4 separate regions of the Homo sapiens genome follow, and regions 1, 2 and 3 are each linked to region 4. Evidence: promoter capture Hi-C in human tissues and cell types (Jung and others, 2019). All regions are on one chromosome and are shown on one strand. The core of a region is centred on a gene start or on the middle of the fragment in contact, and the rest is flanking DNA. Distances in the headings are between cores, read along the strand shown.

What was found. The method cuts DNA at HindIII sites, captures the fragments that hold promoters and counts their contacts. A contact is called where the count stands out against the background at its distance.
Region 1: a contact is called between the fragment with the promoter of NWD1 here and the fragment with the promoter of BABAM1 in region 4, in 1 of the 25 tissues and cell types used here (spleen).
Region 2: a contact is called between the fragment with the promoter of MED26 here and the fragment with the promoter of BABAM1 in region 4, in 2 of the 25 tissues and cell types used here (dorsolateral prefrontal cortex and lymphoblastoid cells).
Region 3: the fragment with the promoter of CHERP here is called in contact with the fragment with the promoter of BABAM1 in region 4 in 1 of the 25 tissues and cell types used here (dorsolateral prefrontal cortex).

Annotation. Positions count from the first base shown.
Region 1 is chr19:16,718,397-16,721,143 of GRCh38, reverse strand. It overlaps NWD1 (NACHT and WD repeat domain containing 1), which reads right to left and starts at 1,297. Exons shown (of 19, transcript NM_001007525.5): 1 at 851-1,297. The HindIII fragment of the contact is 25,691 bases long and covers 1-2,747 here.
Region 2 is chr19:16,626,799-16,629,610 of GRCh38, reverse strand. MED26 (mediator complex subunit 26) reads left to right here and starts at 1,407. Exons shown (of 3, transcript NM_004831.5): 1 at 1,407-1,739. The coding sequence starts at 1,668. It overlaps LOC105372296 (a long non-coding RNA gene), which reads right to left and starts at 1,179. Exons shown (of 2, transcript XR_936361.3): 1 at 363-1,179; 2 at 1-252. RefSeq lists enhancers at 194-243, 348-1,279 and silencers at 794-873, 1,124-1,383, 1,484-1,543. The HindIII fragment of the contact is 10,464 bases long and covers 1-2,812 here.
Region 3 is chr19:16,541,174-16,543,873 of GRCh38, reverse strand. CHERP (calcium homeostasis endoplasmic reticulum protein) reads left to right here and starts at 1,437. Exons shown (of 17, transcript NM_006387.6): 1 at 1,437-1,520; 2 at 1,831-2,004. The coding sequence starts at 1,496. RefSeq lists silencers at 1,536-1,725, 1,736-1,805. The HindIII fragment of the contact is 9,580 bases long and covers 1-2,700 here.
Region 4 is chr19:17,265,993-17,268,692 of GRCh38, reverse strand. It overlaps BABAM1 (BRISC and BRCA1 A complex member 1), which reads right to left and starts at 1,250. Exons shown (of 9, transcript NM_014173.4): 1 at 1,166-1,250. RefSeq lists enhancers at 762-1,473, 981-1,480, 1,741-2,200. The HindIII fragment of the contact is 20,462 bases long and covers 1-2,700 here.

The sequences.
Region 1 (2,747 bases), core at 48-2,547, 550 kb after region 4:
GTGCAGTGGCTCACACCTCTAATCCCAGCACTTTGAGAGGCCAAAACAGGCAGATTACTTGAGGCCAGGAGTTCGAGACCAGCCTGGCCAACATGGCGAAACCCCATCTCTACTAAAAATACAAAAATTAGCTGGCGCGGTGGCATGTACCTGTAATCCCAGCTACTCGGAAGCCTGAGGCAGGAGAATCGCTTGAACCCGGGAAGCAGAGGTTGCAGTGAGCCGAGATCGTGCCACTGCGCTCCAGCCTGGGCAACAGAGCAAGGCTCCATCTCAAAAAGAAAAAGTCTCGGCCAGGTGCGGTGGCTCACGCCTGTAATCCCAGCACTTTGGGAAGCCGAGGAGGGCAGATCATGAGGTCAGGAGATCGAGACCATCCTGGCTAACACGGTGAAACCCCGTCTCTACTAAAAATACAAAAAATTAGCCGGGCATGTGGCGGACACCTGTAGTCCCAGCTACTCAGGAGGCTGAGGCAGGAGAATGGTGTGAACCTGGGAGGCAGAGCTTGCAGTAACTGAGATCACGCCACTGCACTCCAGCCTAGTGACAGAGCGAGACTCCGTCTCAAAAAAAAAAAAGTCTCCCTAGACATTGCAATGTCCCCTAGGGGGCAGAATTCCCCTTACTCGAGAACCCCCTAGTCTAATGCATTTAGCTTATTTCAACCTCAGGGCCTTTGCACGTCCTGTACTTTAGTGCTCTATGCTGCATCTGTTCATGTTGTTCACATTTTAGCTTCAATGCTACCTCCTCCTGAGAGGCTGTCTCTGACCATCCCATTGCGTAGTGACCCCTTAAGTCACTCCCAATGCCATCGCCTTATTTTAATTTTCTGCATGGTACTCACCAACAGCTGATATGTTTCTACATGTTATTGTTTGTCTGTCCCACGAGAAAGTGAATTCCATGAGCCCAAGGATCTTGTCTGGTAAGGCTGGCGTGCCTGGCACATAGTAGGTGCTCAGTAAATTATCATCACAACAGCTTCCTCCACAACTGTTTCTCTTTCTGGACTTCTGTTTGTTGCTGAAGAAGACAGCTGAGCAGGACTGGGCTTCCCCAGTAAGGACAGAGGCCCTTTGCAGTGTCAGCGTTCTGGCTGTCCTGGGGGCTCCAGCCTCTCTTTAGCCTTTGCTGGTAGTTGAACGACCAATTTAGACTCCTCTGGGGAAATAGGTTAGAGAGGACAGTTTCCTGGCCTCGGCGCCACCCGGAAGACAAGCCCCTGGCTATCCTAGTAACTTTCGTCTTAGGTATTTTATGGGTCTCTCCTTGCCCAATTCTCCCAGCAACTGGGATAATGAAAGCGATTGTTTGCACTAGGGCACCAGCTTAGCCGGGCATTCAGCCCAGACTTAGTGGTTAACTATTGTGTGCCAGGCTGATACGGCTCCTCGTAAAAGATGCCATTTGCTGACAGTCTAGGAGGTGCAGTTGGTTGGCATTTGGCATTAGCAGTCCACATTATTACCCCAAGAGACAGACATTATGATCCTGTTTCACAGATGAAGAAAACAAGATGCAGAAAGGTGAAGTCCCTTGCCTGTGACGCTTCACTACTCTGCACTTGAATTTTCTCACTAACTTCCTGTGTTGGTGAGACAATGAAAAGCATTTATATAGAGAGTGAGACTAACACTACACCTACATCACAGGAAGGGCCCGTGAGATGTTAGCCATGATTAATTACCATTAAAACTCCAAGACCGGGCACGGTGGCTCATGCCTGTAATCCCAGCACTTTGGGAGGCCGAGGCAGGCGGATCACCTGAGGTCAGGCATTCAAGACCAGACTGGCCAATATGGTGAGACCCCTATCTCTACTAAAAATAGAAAAATTAGCTGGGCGTGGTGACGCATGCCTGTAATCCCAGCTACTTGGGAGGCTGAGGCACAAGAATTGTTTGAACCTGGGAGTTGGAGGTTGCAATGAGCCGAGATCCTGCCACTGCACTGCAGCCTGGGCGACAGAGCAAGACTTTGTCTCAAAAACTCACAAATCACCCGGGCATGGTGGCTCACGCTAGTAATCCCAGCACTTTGGGAGGCCAAGGCAGGCAGATCACGAGGTCAGGAGATCAAGACCATCCTGGCTAACACGGTGAAACCCCGTCTCTACAAAAAAAACAAAACAAAACAAAACAAAAAATTAGCTGGGCGTGGTGGTTTGCACCTGTAGTCCCAGCTACTCAGGAAGCTGAGGCAGGAGAATGGCATGAACCCGGGAGGTGGAGCTTGCAGTGAGCCGAGATCGCACCACTGCACTCCAGCCTGGGTGACAGAGCGAGACTTTGTCTCAAAAACTCACAAGTCACCCAGGCATGGTGGCTCACGCCAGTAATCCCAGCACTTTGGGAGGCCAAGGCAGGCAGATCACGAGGTCAGGAGATCAAGACCATCCTGGCTAACATGGTGAAACCCTGTCTCTACATAAAAAACAAAAAACAAAAAACAAAAAATTAGCTGGGCGTGGTGGTTTGCACCTGTAGTCCCAGCTACTCAGGAAGCTGAGGCAGGAGAATGGCATGAACCTGGGAGGTGGAGCTTGCAGTGAGCCGAGATTGCGCCACTGCACTCCAGCCTGGGCGACAGAGCAAGCCTCCATCTCAAAGAAAAAGTAATAATAATAGTGTTACTATATTTTCAGGGATAGAAGTTTCAGATACTTGGTCAGGCGCGGTGGCTCATGCCTGTAATCCCAGCACTTTGGGAGGCCGAGGTGGGCAAATCACCTGAGGTCAGGA
Region 2 (2,812 bases), core at 158-2,657, 640 kb after region 4:
GGGAGGGGCGAGGTTGGGAGCAGTAAATGACAAGTGTTTTGCCCGTGTTTCTTTTCTCCTCCAAGTGTGATGTAAAACTTTTCACATGTGCAGAAGCACGCAACCATAGCCACGTGCAGAAGCAGCCGTTTTTGCAAATGAAAATATTTCCCAGAAGCACAACAAATACAAGACTAACAGGTGTCGGGCAGCTCCAAGGCACACATGTGGTTCTCATCAGCTGTCTTCCTCCTGTTTTAAATCTAGGTCTTCCTGTAACAGTGGGAAAAAAAAGATTTCTCCCGAGGCCGCCGAGCTTGCCTTTCCATCCCGTCTCACAAGAGCATTTCCAACAGAGCTCCCAGAGAGAGGGGAGCAATTACCAAGGCAATAAACAGGGTGGAGGGAGGAGGGGCGCCCTTAAACTTGACATCTGCGGTTCTGGGCTTAACCCCGAAGTCTAGGTGACCTTGGGCCTCCGTTTCCTCCTCTGTGACGTGTTTGGTTAAGAGAATGAGCATCTCAGTTTTACAGAATCTCAAGGCAGAGGCGGGTAGAAGGGTCTTTCAATCACGGGGTTCTCTGCCGGTGGGGGGGCGGGGGGACTGTGCCCCCACAAGGGACGGCGGCAATGACTGCAGATTGGGGGAGGGGGCGCTTCGGAGGCCAGAGATGCCGCTCAACTTCCGACAGATCGGGGGACCCGCCCCGAAGACAGAGCGATCCCGCCCAAATGCCAGTGGTGCCGAGGTGGAGAAGCCGCCGCGTAGACGCAGATTTGCAACCTCCGGCTTTCCCAGCTACGGCGGGCGGCTTCTGCCAGAGGCGCTTTGCCGCCTCACGTTTTCGCGATCGGGGTCGCGCGTGGCGGTGCAGACCCCCGCCCTGCCACCACACCCATTCCCACACCCTCTGAGGGGCGGGGGGGCCGCGGCGACACCCCCGGACTCCGATGACCCTTCTGCGCGCAGAATCACAACGTGGACGTCTGGTTCCCTCGCCCTCACAAAAAACTCGGCAGCTGCTCAGCCTGCGACTCCCGTCCCCCAGTCACGCGCCGGGAAGGCTCTCCCAGAGGAAGGATTTTCCCGCCGCCCTCCCCGCCCCGAGGTAGCCGCTGCGAGCGTCCGGGTTCAAGGACTCTTTGCGCGCGCGCTTCCGTCAGAAAGCCCCGCCCCGTGACCTGGACGGGGGCCGTTGCCCCGCCCAACCTCCTCCCAACGGCTGCCTAGGCCGGGCGGCTGGGCGGGGCGTCACGGGCGGACGAGTGCGCCTGCGCGCGCTTGCGCGGAGGCGCGGGGCGTGGCACACGGGCAGCCCCGCCCAGGCCTGGCGTCTCCGCCCGCCCCATCTCCCAACCTCCTCAGCGTGGCGCCGACGCTGCGTGCGGCGCGGACTACCCAGAGTACTCCGCGCGGGGGCAGCTCACTGGAGTTTGGTTCTCGAGGCGGCGGCAGCGAGCGGCGGCGGCTCCGGCGGCTCCTCCTCCTCCTTTGGTGGCGGCGGCGGCCCGGGACCGAGACCCGGCCCCGGCTCCCCTCTCCGCCACCCCGCGCGCCCCCAACCCCCCGGCGCCGCGGGGAACATGCGGCTCCGGCTCCCGGAGGCCGGCGAGTGAGTGACCCCCGTCCCCCGCCTCAGCCCGCCCGCCCGCTGGCCCGGCCGCAACCCCCCGCCTCGCCCAGGCAATGACAGCGGCTCCGGCGTCTCCGCAGCAGATCAGGGACCGGCTGCTGCAGGCCATCGACCCCCAGAGCAACGTAAGTACCCGCCGCGCGAGCTGGGACGGAGGCCGCATGGGCCCGGGACCCTCCCCCTCTCCTGTACCCCTCGCCCACCGGGCTTCGGGGGACCCGTCTGGCGCCCACCTCCCCTCGAGGGCCGCTGCCATCCCTGCCTCTCGCTTCTCGGGCCCGGGCCGGGGGCAGGTCGGGCAGCCCGGCAGCGCTCGGTACGTGAGGCCGAGGCTTCCGTGCGGCCTGGGCGGAGGAAGCAGACGGGGGAGCTGAGGCTAGAGTTTTTCCTCCCTTTCTGCTCCAGCTCTACGACCCTCACTGCTCTGGACGAAGCTTCTCTGCCTCGCCCTCCCTCCGGGACCCGAGACCCCCGGGAAGCCCTCCCGGAGCGGGAAGGGGAGGGAGAAGGGCTGTGAAGCAACTGGTGTCCGGGGTATGACTCGGGGAACCTATGTCTCCCATGTCTTGGCCTCCTGGGTGATCAGGGAAGTCCTTCTTCCCCCTCCTCTCGGCTGGCAGCACCTTCCTGGCTTCGGAGAGAACCCCCAGTCTGTTTTGCCCCTGGCCGGGTACCTAGGGTACGTGGAGAGTCTGTCTCCCTTCTGTGACTAGACACGCCTTTGCCAAAACCCTCTTGGGGTCGCTGCCGACGATAGATGATCTCGGGGAGGGTGGGATCCTTCCTGTTGCCTTTCTGGGCCTCAGTACCCATTGCGTCTCTGACCAAGCCAGAGCTCCATTTTTTAGGTAGTGAATTAAAGAGGACTTTTCTCTCCCGTTTACCCAAGAGCTCTGTTTCAGTAGGCTCTTTCCCTCACCTGGGGGTCTCAGCCTGGTGGTTTTTGACCCAGACTGTCGGGGTTAACTCCAGAGTGTCGCTTCCTCGGGTGCCCCTTTGCTGAGGCTACTGTTTGCGGAGGGACCGCCCCCTCCCCTTCCGTGTGTGTGTGTGTGTTGTTGCGGGGGTGGGGGGGTGGGGGGGAAGACTGATCTATTCTCATATTTTCTCCAAGAGTTTCTTGGCAGTAGGGGTCATTCTTCCCGCGGCAGGAGCAGGGCGGTAGGAAGATGCAGTAGCATCCAGGTATGAGGGGAGG
Region 3 (2,700 bases), core at 188-2,687, 730 kb after region 4:
CAAAAATTAGCCGGGCGTGGTGGTGCGCACCTGTAGTCCCAGCTCCCCTGGAGGCTGAGGCAGGAGAATTGCTTGAGCACGGGAGGCAGAGGTTGCAGTGAACCGAGATCACACCACTGCACTCCAGCTTGGGCGAGAGAGAGCAAGACTGTGTCTCAAAAAAAAAAAAAAACCAAACAATTAAGATCCTCGATCTTCATGAGAAAATATGAACTAGAGGACATTTAGAAAAAAAAAAATCCTTGATCTTGCCTCCTGACCTGCAGAGTCTAAAATATTTGCTTTCTGTCCCTTTTATACAAAAAGTTTTGTTGATTCCTAGCCTACAGCAACACTTGATGTAGAGTTGTCAATCCATAAGCATCTGGTGGAAAAATGCTGTTAACAATAAAAATGAAACTAATCTAAAATACATGTGCATTTATTTGCACAGAAAAAAACAGGCTGGGTAAAGTAGCTCATGCCTATAATCCTAGCACTTTGGGAGGCCGAGGCGGGAGGATTACTTGAGCACAGGAGTTCAGGGCTAGTGAGCTATGATCATGACACTGCACTCCAGCGTGGGCCACAGAGCAAGACCTTGTCTCAAGAAAAAAGAAAAAAAAAAACGGATAAAGGAAAAAAAAGCGGCGGGGGCGGGGGGCAGGTATAGCCAACTAAGCATTAACCATCTCAAGAGGATCAGTTTATATCGGACGTCCACAGCAGAAATTTGCTGCTTCTGGCTATCTTTTCCCCACAATTAGCAAGGGTTAGCTTCATTATTTTAGAGGCAACCCAACTGCAGCTTTTAGAAAGGCGCTGTGCCCTCTAGGCCAGCAATTTGAGGGCATGGGTTGGGGGGTACCCCGCCCCAGTCTTCCTGACCAAAGAGTGGAGCGGAAGAAAGCCAGGAGGAGGATGTTTTGAACCTAAATACGTCCAGCTGCAATCCCAGTCAAGCTCGTCGCCCCCAGTTCTGCTCCACCTCCGGTCTGGCCGGGGAGAATGTGACAGTCGCCGCAGCCCGGGATCCACCCGGACGCACCTCACCTCGCAGTCTCCTCACTGTGCCCGCGAAAGGAAAGAGACCCTGGCCCAGGCACGAAGTCCCCAGGCCCCTGGTCGCCCGGAGGTAGCAACCAGCCAGCCCATCGGGCTGCGACGCCGACCAAGGGGCACGCCCCGCGCCCCCCGGTCTCGACTAACACCCACCCGCGCCGTTCCAGCCTTTCCGCGGCGCCGCGCGACGGGGACCCACTCTGCGAAAGTGTCAGGAAACTTCTGCGCGTGCGCGTCGCTAGCCCCTCCCGCGCGCCAGGCATCGCGCGGCTTCTTCCCGCCTGCCTCCCGCTCTCACTTCCGGAGTTTCCCAGCGACGGCCGTAAGTGGCGGGCGGAAGCGGCCCTAGAAGCCCGCCGTAAACGGCTCCCTCGCGCCACTTCCGGCCGGCTTCCGCAGACGGCGCTGGTGGTCGATCGTGTGGCGCCGGAGGACGTTCCCCGCGGCCGGAGCCATGGAGATGCCGCTGCCCCCCGATGGTGAGACCCAAACCGGCCGAGAGACCGTTTCTCTCTCCCCGGAACCTCCTATTGGCCGGCCCCGCCTCCCGGAGTCCCCGGGTCTGGGAGGGGGCGGGGCTCGGCCTCGCGGCTTCGCCTGCGGCCTCTCCCGTGGGTCCCCGCATTCCCGGCGAGCGTGTGGCCCCTATCGGGACCCGTACAAGGGCGGCCTCTTCGGGGCCCACCCCCTTGGGGTCCCCGGCAAGGCGGACGGGGGCTGGGGCGCCGAGTCCCCCGGCTTTGGGCGGTCCTCGCTGACGCCCCGCGTGGCCTTTTCTCCGTCCTCCAGACCAGGAGCTTCGAAATGTCATCGACAAGCTCGCCCAGTTCGTGGCTCGCAATGGGCCCGAGTTTGAGAAGATGACTATGGAGAAGCAGAAGGACAACCCCAAATTCTCGTTTCTTTTCGGAGGCGAATTCTACAGTTACTACAAGTGCAAGCTGGCGCTGGAGCAGCAGCAGCGTGAGTCCCCTCCGGCACTCAGGCCGTCCCATCGAGCGCTTCCTTTCTCGGATTCCAGTCCGGGCTCTGCCACAAACCTCTTTCTTTCGGGTCGTTTATTCTTTGAAGTGGAGCAGCTCGGTCCACACGATCCCTGTTCCGCTGTTCCCACGGCCCTGCACAGAGCGGCTGCTGGGTGCCACTGTAATGGAGAACAACGAGGTTTTCGATCCTCCCCCCTGGGCTCTGGATCAGGGATTTTGCTGTTGTTTTGCAGACTGATGACGGAGATTAGCAGGAGTAGCGTGATTGTTTTAGTGTTTTCTAGGGAGGAAGTGATAGAGGCCGGATGGGAGTCCATGGGACAGGCACTGTCCAGCCCCCTTTGCCGTCTCCCTGTGGGTCCAGCAAGGTTTTGTGCATTTCAGATGCCTGCAGCAGAAATCAAAAAGAATTATCCCTCTGAGTTTTAGTTATTGGCAAGTGTTTATCAATGTTCGTTCATTTAGGCAACAGGATTCCAGTCCTGCTCTAAAGAAGTTTAAAGTTAGGAAGCAGAGCTGGCCTTTGAATAATGGATAGTCACCAGGTGGTGCGGCTGCTCAGGGCAGGTATCACATCTGTCACGTTCAGTACCCAACCCCGTCTCTAGATTGTTTAAATGAATAACTAGGAGTTTGCCAGGTAGATGGACATTGAGAGGTGGTTGTCCGCTGT
Region 4 (2,700 bases), core at 1-2,500:
CTTTGGGAGGCCGAGGCAGGTGGATCACCTGAGGTTGGAAGTTCGAGACCAGCCTGACCAACATGGAGAAACCCCGTCTCAACTAAAAATACAAAATTAGCCGGGCGTGGTGGCGCATGCGGATAATCCCAGCTACTCGGGAGGCTGAGGCAGGAGAATCGCTTGAACCCGGGAGGGGAGGCTGCGGTGAGCCGAGATCCCGCCACTGCACTCCATCCTGGGCAAAAAGAGCGAAACTCCGTCTCAAAAAAAAAAAAAAAAAAAAGATTGGTTACTAAGAAGGAAGAGGGGCGATGAGCCGCTTACTGATGATGAGTCACTCCTCTTAGGGAGTCACTTTCCTCAGCTGCAGAATGGCTGCCTTTTACACCTCTCAGCCGAGCAGCCACTCCGACATAAGATAACAGTCCCCCCTCTTTTTTCCTCTTTTTTTTTTTAACGTAGTGCTAGCCCCATGCCCCTACTCGGCCAGTGAGCACATCCCAGCTCTCTGGCCACTGAAAATGGCTCAGGGATGGGCACATGACCCAAATCAGGCCATTGAGTGGCAGCTCTGCAACTTCTAGCAGTGTCATCAAGGAAAAGAGACTCTCATTAGAGTTGCAGAGCTGGTAGAATAAAGTTGAGAGCTGTGAGGGGCCCCTTTTGCCTCGGTAAAAAGCGAAATGGTCTCCACCGAGAAAACTGCAGATCGAATTCTGACCACCTGGACCCAGCTCCTGTTAGACCCAATCTATAAGCCACCAACTTCCTTTTCTTCCTTAAGCCAGATTGAGTAGGGTTTTCTGTTACCTAAAACTGAAAATGTCTTGGTGAATAAGGGAATAATAACCTCTAGGACACCCTCGTCCCTAGCGGGTGTCTGCATGAGGGAGAAGCAAAATATTAGTACTGTGGTTCCCCTTGGAGAGAAACAGGACGCGAATGGAGCAGTTTGTCTATCTGGGAAATAGGCACGGGCTTCCCAAGATGGTCTTTGAGCGCCTTGCAGTCCCCACACCTCTAAGAAAAACAAGGCTTTAGCGGCAGCAAGAAGGATGGAGGCTACACTGCAGGAGAAACCAGAAATAAAGGCGGAAGCCCCAGGAAAGGCGAGGAGCTGGATCTCTTGGGGCAAAGGGAGCTGGGCCCCTAGGAACGGGCCCCACACGCTTTCACCACCCACCTTCGGCTCACCGTAGCCTGAACCTCCTTCTAAATCAGCCGCCGACTCACTAGGAAGCCGCCATCTTTACAGCCGGAAGTTGTACGGCGCAGCCCCGACGCCTCCTGGGAAATGTAGTTCAGCGGGCTGCAGAACAAGCAGAGACAGAAACTGGTTGAGGCTAGAAAGAACTTGGAAACTGATAGGCTGAAACTGGGTTGGGGGTGGGGTTTGGAGTGAGAGCTGCCTGGAGCTGGGTGCGGCGGGACCTGGAATGTGATTGGCTACACTGGAGCAAAGTATGAAATGTGATTGGATTAAAAAAATTAGTGAATTTTTGTTTTTGGCCGAATCAGACTACAATAGTCAGTGCTTCTACCGTGATAGGCTGAAACGTGGAATAGAGGTGGAGCTTGCAATGTGATAGGCTAAGAGGGACGGAGAAGGCCGATTTAGGGAAAGAGGAGGAGCTGATTGGTGATTGGTGGAGCTGGCCTGAGCCTCCATGTGGGGCAGGTATTCCCATGTGGGTGTGGCCTGAGCATCCAGGGCCCTTCCCAATTACTTAATTCTTGTTCCTTATTTTACATATATTTGCATGAATCAAAAAATACTTACTCTGGTCTTATTGGGTCACTGTAGGTGGAGCGAAGCTAAGTCGGGCCTATTTCAAGCCTACCTCTTTTTTCATGGCTTTTTTTTTTCTTATTTTTAGAGACAGGGTATCGCTCTGTCGCCCAAACTAGACTGCAGTCACGCGATCATGGCTAGTCACTACAGCCAAGCGATCGCTCAAGTAGCTGGGACTACAGGCGAGGACCACCGCATCAGACTACCCTAGGCTTCCTTCCTTTTTTTTTTATTTTTATTTTTTAGATGGAGTCTCACTCTGTCGCCCAGGCTGCCGTTGTCTTCTTAGTGCACACTTCCCCCTTAGCCCCAGAAGTATTTATTTATTTATTTTTATTTTTTTGAGACAAGAGTCTTGCTCTGTCGCCCAGGCTGGAGTGCAGTGGCTCAATCTCGGCTCACTGCAACCTCCACCTCCAGGGATCGAGCAATTCTCCTGCCTCAGCCTCCCAAGTAGCTGGGATTACAGGCATGCACCACCAGGCCCGGCTGAGATATATATAGTATTTTTAGTAGAGCTGGGTTTTTGTTGTGTTTTTTTTTTTCGTTTTTGTTTTTGTTTTTTTGAGATGGAGTCTCGCTGTGTCACCTAGAGCGGCTCTTTGAAGGCTCTAAGCCTTTGCCCAGGAAGTTCCTTCTGCCTGGAATGCTGTTCCTCCTGTTGCTTTTCTGGCAAGTTCTTTATGCTTCAAAGCTCACCTTACACAGCCCCTCCGGCTATTCTCGAATTAGAGCCTGGCCAATGTGGCCGGCTTCTTTGACCCTCAAAAAAAAAAAAACAACTGAGGAGTTGGGGGCAGTGGCTCACACCTATAATCCCAGCATTTTGGGAGGCTGAGGTGGGTGGATCACGAGGTCAGGAGTTAGAGATCAGCCTGGCCAATATGGTGAAACCCCGTCTCTACTAAAAATACAAAAAATTAGCT